Regions from separate parts of the Homo sapiens genome. Here region 2 is linked to region 1. Evidence: promoter capture Hi-C in human tissues and cell types (Jung and others, 2019). All regions are on one chromosome and are shown on one strand. The core of a region is centred on a gene start or on the middle of the fragment in contact, and the rest is flanking DNA. Distances in the headings are between cores, read along the strand shown.

Region 1 (5,102 bases), core at 1,249-3,748:
TGGCCTACACTTCTTTTTTGGCCTGTACTCTTTGCATCTGTTGTTTTCTCTTTTACAGTGCATTCAGCTGAAAGCATCCTAAAAGATACTGTCTCATTGGCTCTAGCTGGGTCATGTGCCCATTCCTGACCATGCATGCACTGTGGGGATGTGATGTGTGATGGGACTTAGGCTAGATGATCCAGTACTCTTCTGCAGTGAGATGGGCTCATCCCATCTGACTTCACGGGCAGAGTGTGGAGGAAAAGGCATATCTACTGAGAAATGAGGGTATGATTTCTATAAAATAGTGAAATATATGTTGTGAAACAAACATATCAGATATCTAATACTTTGTCCTTTTGAATGTGCCCTTTATTACAGAATGGCCTCAAATCGTGAGTACAGTGGGTAAGAAGTAGGCTATCTGTTACTTCGTCTGGTAGCCCAGCAAACGTAACTACGGAGGTGTTTTAGACCAAAGGTAGATCTGCTATGCTATTGACTCATCTAAATAGACTATGAAAATTTTTCCTGAGTTAGGCTCTCATATCTCTAGCTTTGGAACACAAGCCATTTTGAGATCATAGCAAAACACAGTGCGACCCACAGCCAAAACAGACAAAACACTCAGTTGCCAGATGATCCAGGGCTTCCTAAGAATACTAGAAAAAGCAGGCAGCAATTTAAGCAGCATGTGCCATCCCTCAGGCCCCAAGGTTTTCTGGCACCCTTCTGTCATGCCCCCTGAGGTTCAGTTGGTCTCATGGCTCTGACTCAGTGTGGTATGTAGAAGAGTGGGGCCTCAGGTCAGCCTGTGTCTAGTGATTTCAATTCTGCTCTTGGCTGCAATTCCAACTGTCAAGAAAGTTTTGCAGTCAGCCATTTGATAGTGGAAGGGTTAGCCCATGAAACTGAATTTCCTGTGTATCTGGAAAGAGAGGCAGCCCTAGAGATCTGACATGCTCTGTGAAAATTAGGGGTTCATTTTTGCTATTGCTGGTTAGTCTCTGCTGAACCTAATATATTTCAACATTTGAAGACTTTTTTTAAAAAGAAAATTTTTTTCTTTCTATTTTTTATTATGAACTTAAGTAACTTCATGGCAAAAAAATCTAATCAACATTAAACTATTTACTTCCCTCCAAAGTAATTTCCTCTCTGTCAATGCACAGACGTGCATTTTTACTTAGTTATAATTAGTGTGAACATACTCGTTTTTGTTTAAGAAAGGTTTTCTTTACCTTGGCATTCAGATTCGTTTTCATAGGCGAAGAAAGCACTGGGAAGGAGAAGGAACCTTTGCTGGCAAGTTGGGAGGATTATATGGGGTCATACTATCCCAGGGTTAAGGAAACCTTAAAGGACCCAACATCCCTCTCCATATCTCTTCTGATGATCCTTTTGTGCTCACAGACTAACCAGTGTGGCCTTTTCACTCAAAAGCCTCTCCAGATCTGCACAGCACCAAGGGTGCAGTCTGGCTCCCAAAGGAGTAATGCAATTCCATCCTCAGGTCTGCCAGGGCCCACCTGTCTGTCGTGGGCATGCACCATTGCCCTGGCTTTACTGGGCTGTTGGGTTGTCTAGTGGTTTTCCTTGCAGAAAGCAAGCAGGAACAATGCTGCTCCGGACTGGTTTTCCATACCACTCCTCTCAAATATCTTCTATTTTCTTAAGTGTGATCACACACCCATGGTTTCCAATCTATCAAAGCATAACATTGCTAGTCGCTTTTTTCTAAGTTAAGGAAGTAGCCATGTTGGGTTTAATTAAAAACAGCAACTATTTGTACAGCTGTCCCTAAGTTCATGGCTCATAAAAGGATTAACTTCAACCTTGCTGCCTAAGTCTTTTGGGAGTGTCACAAAAAAACATTTAGGCTTTTCTGGGCAGTGCCAGGCCTGGGCCTTGAGGCTTGCTGATGCTAGTTCAGCCACCAGGCTCTCGGTGCTCAAGTGGCACCCAGCAAAGCAGAGAAGAGCAGAACTTCCAGATACACAACTCCTCCTTCTTTTGTTTGGGGGATGCAAGGCCTTGAAGGCTGCTTCAACAAGTTTCTGAAAATTCCCCTCGGGTTGGGAAAGGCACAGTCTTCCTTTTGCAAGTTTTTCTAGAGCCCTTCGTACTTTTGCCCTAGAGTGGGTCTTTTGCACCCCCACCTCCCAGACCTCAGTGGTCATTGGCAGGCATCCTTCGAAGGAGGTGGGGGCGGGGTATCCCCGCCGATGGATGCGCCCGCACAAAGCAGCACGTTTTCTCATCAAAGCCCTGGAGAGAGGGAAGAAGCAACGCTCAGCATTTCGCTGATTTTCAAGTGCACACCGAGCAGCGCTTCAGGCAGCTTTGGGTCAGAACACGCCTGATTCGGACTTCAGGCGAAGGCAGAGGCCAGCACGGGTCACCGATTCAGAGCCGGGGGCGGGGCCGACCACACACGCTGTGAGACCCAGAGGCCGAGGAGCCGCGGGTTAGAAAATGTGACCTTGGCGACCCCAACGCCCCCGCCTCCCTCGCTGCTGCTCCACCTGCACGCGGAGCGCGCCGGGCCGCCAGCGGAGGCGATGGCCAGCCCTGCGCCCTTAGTGGCCTCCATCAGCCACCAAATGGTGGCTCTGCAGACCTTGCAGCTGCTGCAGCAGGAGTGGGGCTGGGGGGACGGTCCAGTCGCCCCCGGGAACCCGCGGGACCCAGACCACGTGTCCACCGCTCCAGCCCGTCGCTCAGGCCCGCCGCGGGCCCGGCCGGGGCCCGGGCGCGAGGAGCGGGGCGGGGGCGTGGGGACCAGGAGTCGGCGGACCGCGGCGCGGGCGAACTCCCCAGAGGAGGAGGTAGTGCGAGGCGCTGAGGGGGGCGCCGAGTTGCTGCCCTTCCCCCGGGACCGCGGGCCCTGCACCCTGGCCCAGATGGCGATGCGCAGCGCGCTGGCCCGCGTGGTGGACTCGACTTCGGAGCTGGTCAGCGTGGAGCAGACGCTGCTGGGGCCCCTCCAGCAGGAGCGGTCCTTTCCCATTCACCTGAAGGTGAGTCTGGCCCCCGCCATCCCCTCTGGCGTGCAGGGTAACCTCCCATCCTCCAAGGGTGGGGCTGCTGGGATGGCGATGGGTGGATCGCAGGATCCCAAACACTGCTGCCCACTGTGATTCAGCCCCAGTGGGAGAAGGAAGGGGGCGGGGGACACTCTGGGGACTCAGCAGGAGGGGCAGGGAGCCCCAGACCCACCTGAGGCCCGCCTGGCTGGCACAACCGAGATGTGGGGACTGCCTTGCCAAAACCTCCCCCTGGAACTCCTTCCTCTCTCACATAAATCAGCTTCCTGCGCTAGAAAGGCCCTTTCCACACGTGCAGCTTGTAGGGATAGAGGACAGCTCCCCCCACCCACTTTCCAAATTAATAACGCTTCCTCCAGAGCCTTAAATACACTTACTAAGTCCCTTCTGCCTTTTGTATGATGAAATCATCTACATTTATTTAAAGTTCCTTCACATTCATGAATCACTATTATTTTTTGCATAAATCCAATTCCCCACAGAGCTAAGGGGTCTTACAGAGTCAACCTACATTCTCATAAAGTGGGGTGAGAGCTGGGTGGGTCCCGGGTGTTAAAGCGTGAATACTAAATGCTAAACTCTTGCTAAGTCACCCAGCTCATATAGGTAGGGCACATTTCCTCTTAAGGTACCAAACTGTGTTAGCCAATTTAGCCCGGGAAGGGAGCAGCTGTCTCCCAGGCTGAGTGAGATTGCGGAAATCTGGGGGTCTGGGTTTCAGTCCTGGACTTGCCATTAACTAACCTAATTGGTTTAAGGTCACGAATCTCTCTGAGACATTCTGGCTTTCAGATTTTGACCAGGAGCATTGCTGTATTTTATTTCCCTGGGGCATCTAGCAGAAGGAGTTGGGGAGGGGTGATGAGGAGAGCTTAGAATATGTCTCAAGAGTTGCTATTCTGTACAAGCCAAGGTTTGGAAAAAGTTGCTATACATTAAGTTGCACTATACACTGTAAAAGATTTATTTAAAATCAAACATAATAAAGCCTATTATATACCCAAATAGGTATTGTTTCTCTACGTAGGGGTTTCTCAATCTCTGTACTATTCACATTTTGACCTGGCTAATTCTTTGTTGTCGGGGGTTGTCCTGTGTATTAGAGGATGTTTAGCAGCATCTCTCGCCTCTACCTGTTAGATGCCAGCAGCATATTCCTCGCCGCAAGTTGATACAGCCAAAAATGTCTCCAGACACTGCCAAAGGTGGCGGGGGCGGTGGGGTGGGAGGCAAGATGAGAAGCACTCCTACACTCACTTTAGAAAGTTAGAAAATGAAGCTGCATTTCACCAAATGCTCTCCAATGTAAGATGTACTTTTTTTTGGTATCACCAAAATTTTTTTTAATCCTGTCATTGAACTATGATACACCATTGATTATAAGTTACATGCTAATTTAAGGGATTTTTTTTTTTTTTTTTTTGAGACAAGGTCTGCCTGTGTTGCCAAGGCTGCAGTGTGGTAGCCATTCACAGGTGCGATCATAACACTACAGCCTCGAGCCCTGGGCTCAAGTGATCCTCCTGCCTCAGCCTCCTCAGTAGCTGCAACTACAAACCTGTACCACCACATCTGGCTGATTTCAGGGATTTTTAAAAAATGTGAATAAAAGTGCATTTTAAAATAGATGAAATATGAAGTGACTTGTGATGTCAGTAGCACATACAGGGCATAGGTAAGGCTGGCAAAAAGAGAGACTGACAATCAGTTTTACCTAAGGTGACCCTGGAAGGCTTCTCAGAGGAGGCAGCCTTTAAAAAAAAAATACATGTTATTTTCCAGACATTAAAGGGAAAAATATTTCAGGAGAATACTTTGGTTAAGGCCCAGCAGCACTGAAAGGGACTGAGGCTCTAGAGGAACTACAGTTAAGTTCAATATGGCAGAAGGCAAAAACTGATGCTGGAGACACAAATGGGGGCCAGTTAGGGAAAGGCCTGTGTGTCATGCTGAGGACCTTGGATTGTCTTGCAAGCAGAGGGTAGGTAAATCACAGAAGCCTGGATAAATCACAGAAGGGTAGGTTTCAGTTTGAAAGTCAGGTCAGAAGACAGCTGTCTAAGGGCTTGACCC
Region 2 (5,102 bases), core at 1,931-4,430, 39 kb after region 1:
GATAGCCAATGATATGCCAGACTTGATATTGATTGATAATGTTATGGCCCCACCAGGGAAGGTTAGAAGAATGGAAGCTGCTTATTTCAAATTTGAATGAGCAATCAAACATTCCTGTTCTGATTAATGTTTTTTTGCCTTGATGCACATATAAGAACTGGGACTAGCAGAAAGGGTTTAGCTTAGGACTGTGGAGAAATGCTTTTCTTCATTTCTGATAAAGCTCCATTTGCTGTTTGATCCTGTCTTCTTGATCTCCCAAGTTCCTGATAAGTCTACAAAGCTAAAACACTCACAGTTTGATCATTAGTAGTGTAGATCTTCCTCTCATTCAATGGAAGTCTTCTCTTGGAGGTCAGCAGTAAATGTCTCATTGCCGTGACCCACTGGTCAGTCCTTATGCCTCTTCATCTTTGCACATGCTGATCCCTTTCTCAGAAAGAAAGTCCCTTTAGCCAGGCATCATCTCCTTTGAGAAGCTTTCGCTGACCTCAGACTGGAGAACTCTATTATAGCATTTGACACTCCCCACAAAGGGGAGAACAGTAAGTTGCAGTCTGATGAAGTCATATGATGCCCGGGCTGGCTTATGAGTAAAGAGGTGAGAAGGTCTCCTACTGAAACAGATTTTCCCTCTTTCTTCCCCTTACAATAGCCTTTCAAAGTTCTTGAAATGTCCATTAAGGAATTCCTATACTTTACTTTTGATTTCACAATTTCTCAGTCAAAAGCTCAATATCATTGCATAGGATAATACATTACCTTAAAAAAAAAAACACCAAAAAAACCTCAACACTCAAAGATTAAATTTGTGTTTGGAAAAGGCTTTATAGGCAGTGGTACCTGGAAACTGGTGCTTGAGAGAAGCAGGAGGAGGGAGGGGAGATGTCAAATACCATCTTTTAAAAAATTTGTTTGTTTTTGATGACCATCTTTAAGAGATTTTTAAATGCCATGTATGAATTCAAGAAAGAGAATAAAGCAGGATTCTAAGAAATAATAGAAAGCTTCTTAAGGAAGCCGGTATAGTATCATTTTATATCTCTGATATTTCTGCTCATCTACTAAAGCTCATTAAAACCTATTAATGATTAGGAAATACTTATGTTTTATGAAATGTATAAAAAAATTTAAAGATAACAATCTAAACTCTCTTTAAAAATTAATTTTTATATATATCTTAACACCATTTAACACACTTAATTTTAGTACTTCTTTACTAAAGTTTGCGGAGGCAGACTACTCTTAAAAGTAGGAAAAAAAAAGGCAGAGGAGCAGACCGACTTTTTTTTTTTTTTTTTTTTTTGAGAGGGAGTCTAGCTCTGTCACCCAGGCTAGAGTGCAGTGAGTCTAGCTCTGTCACCCAGGCTGGAGTGCAATGGTGCGATCTCTGCTCATTGCAACCTCCACTTCCCAGGCTCAAGCAATTCTCCTGCCTCAGCCTCCCGAGTAGCTGGGATTACAGACTTCTGAAATTCTGAATAGTATAAATACAACTGGAATTACACTTTATTTTTAAATATACATTTCTAGGTAAAAACATAATTAAAGATCAAATAATTTTGGTTAAATTTTAAAATAAGCCCAATATGTAACTAAATAAGTCTTAGCAGAAAAATGTGAGGATAAAGTTGAGATTGCTCCTATTTTTTAATATTTATAGCATTTATTTATTTGTAATTACTTGTGAAGTTTCAAGTATTAAATATTACTCCGAGCTGTCTAATATGAGTCAGAATTTAGGGCAATAGAAAATATAAAACAAATTTTTCCTTACTAATACATGTTTTTTAAAAAGTTGTGTTTATGTTCTTCATTGAGAACTAAATAATCACTAAAAGAATTGCAGAAGTCATAAAATCATTAAATTAAGGAGAGAAAATCTCTATATATTCAGGATAAAGACATTTAGTATGCTAAGATCTCTATCCAATGGTCAAAAAACAACCAACCAAAGATGAAAATAAAAAATAATTTCTTGGAATATTATCTGAGGACTTCCAATTTTAACATGCAGAGCTAAGTGAGTATTTTCTTATTCATATCTCAGAAAAACCAACCAAAACATCAAGGGAATCAAGAAAAACAGTAATGCAAAGCTTATCCTTTGTAAAACTAGGAAACAACAGAGATTTTTAAATGAGAGAGAGAGAAGACTTAGTGGCATAGGACATAGGAAGTACCAGAGTGAAGATGCCTGTGGATTCTGAGCTTCAAGAAAGTCATAAAAGCACAATTCTAAGTGATACATACTGAAATGTAAATGGAGGTTTTTACAATAGAGGGCAGCAAACCACTTCTTATACAACCAAATAGTAAATATTTTAGAATTTCTGGGCCATATGGTCTCTGCCATAACTATCAAATTCTGCCACTGTAGTGCTGAAGCAACCATGTACAATAAACAAATGGGCATATCTATATTCCAATAAAACTTTACTTCCCAAAAAAGAAAGCTAGCCAATGGGCTATAGTTTGCTGATATTTGTTCTCTAGCAATAAGGGTGTGTCAGCTTGACTGAGTGCTTCCCTGGGCCTCAAAGTGGTGAGGTTTCTAGAAAAAGGAAAGGCGATAAAGCTGAATGAGAAGTGGTAGGAAACTGCACAAAGAAGACAGGGCATTGCTGAAAGCATAGCTAGACATGTGGAAGACGGAATTAGAAAAAAATGAGTAAAAAGAATAAATAAAAAAGATATTTAAAAGGGTTATATGATAGATGCAAAATATATAAAAAAATCAAACATATGCATAATTGGTGTTCTTGAAGAAGAAAATCAAAATAATAAAACAATAACTGTTAGGATTATTACACAAAAATTATGAATATAAAGCATTATTAAACAAAATCCAATTACACATTAAAAAACTAACACACCATGAGCAATTATATTTATTCTAGAATGCAAGGATGGTTCAATATTAGGAAATCTATTAATATATTTCTACCACACTAATAGATTAAAAATCATGTTTCTAGATGCTGAGAGACATTTGATAAACTCCAACATCCATTCTTACTAAACAAGCAAATAAACAACAAAACAAAACTGTCAATAAATGGCAATAGATACTTCCTTAACCTAGTGCAATATACTAATCTCAATCTAAAAGCTAGTGCTATAATCTATAAGGAAACTCAGAAATATTTATATTAATGTCAGGAACAAGACAAGAATGTCTACTACCACAACTATTCATAGACGTTGATCTAGACATCCTAAGCAATGCAGTTTTACAAGAGAGAAAGAAAATGTATACAAATTAGAAAAGAAAAAGACAAATAATAATTGCTTGTAGATTATAAAAGTAAAAATTTTATTATATAAAAAGTGAGCCAACTGAAAAAAAATATTAGAACAATAGTGGAATTCAGTTAGGTCTTTGGTTATAAAGTAAATATATACAATCATCATCCTTCCTATATTAAAATAAAAAAGGCATAATAGAAGAAAATACTTCATTTTTGATAGCAATATCACTAGAAAATATTTAGAATAAATTTGTCAGATGTGAAAACCTATGTAAAATCTTTAACTGGCTGGACGTGGTGGCTCCTACCTGCAATCCCAGCACTTTGAGAGGCCTAGGCTGGCGGATCACCTGAGGTCAGGAGTTCGAGACCAGCCTGACCAACATGGTGAAATCCCATCTCTAATAAAAATTTTTAAAAAATAGCTGGGTGTGGTGGTGCATGCCTGTGGTTGCAGCTACTCAGGAGGCTGAGGCAGGAGAATCACTTGAACCCAGGAGGCAGAGATTGCAGTGAGCTGAGATCATGCCACTGCACTCCACACTCCAGCCTGGGTGACAGAGTGAGACTCTGTCTCAAAAACAAAAACAACAACAACAGAAAAAAAAAAAACCCCATAAAACGAACAACATTACACTGTCTCTTGTGGACACAAAAGAACACTTGAACAGATATAAAAGTATATTATATTCTTGGTGAGGGAAACTCAGTATCAGACAGTTTTCAATTCTCTCTAAAAAAATATAAACATTTAATACAGGTCCTATAAGAATATCAATAAAATTTGGGAGTCTATATATGATTCTAAAGTTCATATAAAGGAAAAAAACAAGCAGGAATAACCAGGAAAATTCAGGGGAAAAAATAGAAAATACATGGTACTAGCCCTACCTGACATTAAAATATTTAGGACGTGATGACATTTCAATTAGTGGGAAAAGGGTGAAATTAATAAATGTTGTTCATTCTAGCCCTCTAAAAAATTAATATTGGATTCTAACCTCAGACCTTACATCAAAATGATTTCCTGATGAATCAAAGATTTCCACGTTAATAAAAATATAAAAATACTAGGACCCACCATGGAAAAGTTTTAAAAGTATTGTAGTAAGGAAGATCTCTTTAAGTCCATTACAAATCTCAGAAGTCATAACAAAAAACTGATGAATCTGACAATATAAAAATAAACTGGGCAAAAAATTTGCAGCTCACATAGTAGACTAGCACTGTCAATGGAAATACAATGTAAGCTACACGTGTAATTCTAAATTTTCTAGTAGTTAGTGTAAAAAGTAAAAAGAAGTCTGTTTTTTAAAGAAATGCATCACCTTTTTTCTTTAATTAAAGAAATTAATTTTAGTAATATGTTTTATTTAATTTGTCATATCAAAAATAATTTTATTTCAATAAGTAATCAATACAAAATATTATAAATAAGATATTTCTATTCCTTTTTGTTCCAAGAAATCTGGTGTGTATTTTATAATTACTGTGCATCACAATTGGAACTAGCCACATTTCAAGTGTTCAAGAGCCACATGGGGCTGGTGGCTACCATATTTGACACACTTTAATGGGTTAATTTTATTAATGTAGAATATTCTAATATAGAGAGAATTATATCAATAAGGAAATGTCTAACAACCTAATAAAAAAGGGCAAAGCATTATTAATTCACTAAAGTTGAGAGAATTTCAAGTTAAATTATCAGAAAATATTACTTCACATCAGATTGACAATGATCAACACATTCTATAACATGCTGAGTCCATGAGGAAGGGGAGAGTGAGTCGTTTCACACACTGATGGTTAAAGTATAAATTCGTACAATCTTAGTTGAGGGAAATTTGT

What was found. The method cuts DNA at HindIII sites, captures the fragments that hold promoters and counts their contacts. A contact is called where the count stands out against the background at its distance.
Region 2: a fragment that was not itself captured here is called in contact with the fragment with the promoter of DLEU7 in region 1 in 1 of the 25 tissues and cell types used here (H1 embryonic stem cells).

The regions. Positions count from the first base shown.
Region 1 is chr13:50,841,088-50,846,189 of GRCh38, reverse strand. It overlaps DLEU7 (deleted in lymphocytic leukemia 7), which reads left to right and starts at 2,498. Exons shown (of 2, transcript NM_001306135.2): 1 at 2,498-3,002. The coding sequence starts at 2,544. The region is part of intron 4 of DLEU7-AS1 (DLEU7 antisense RNA 1); the gene reads right to left. RefSeq lists an enhancer at 2,642-3,568. The HindIII fragment of the contact is 10,732 bases long and covers 1-5,102 here.
Region 2 is chr13:50,803,181-50,808,282 of GRCh38, reverse strand. DLEU7-AS1 (DLEU7 antisense RNA 1) reads right to left here and starts at 428. Exons shown (of 5, transcript NR_046551.1): 1 at 297-428. It also overlaps a transcript of DLEU7 not described here. The HindIII fragment of the contact is 3,253 bases long and covers 1,554-4,806 here.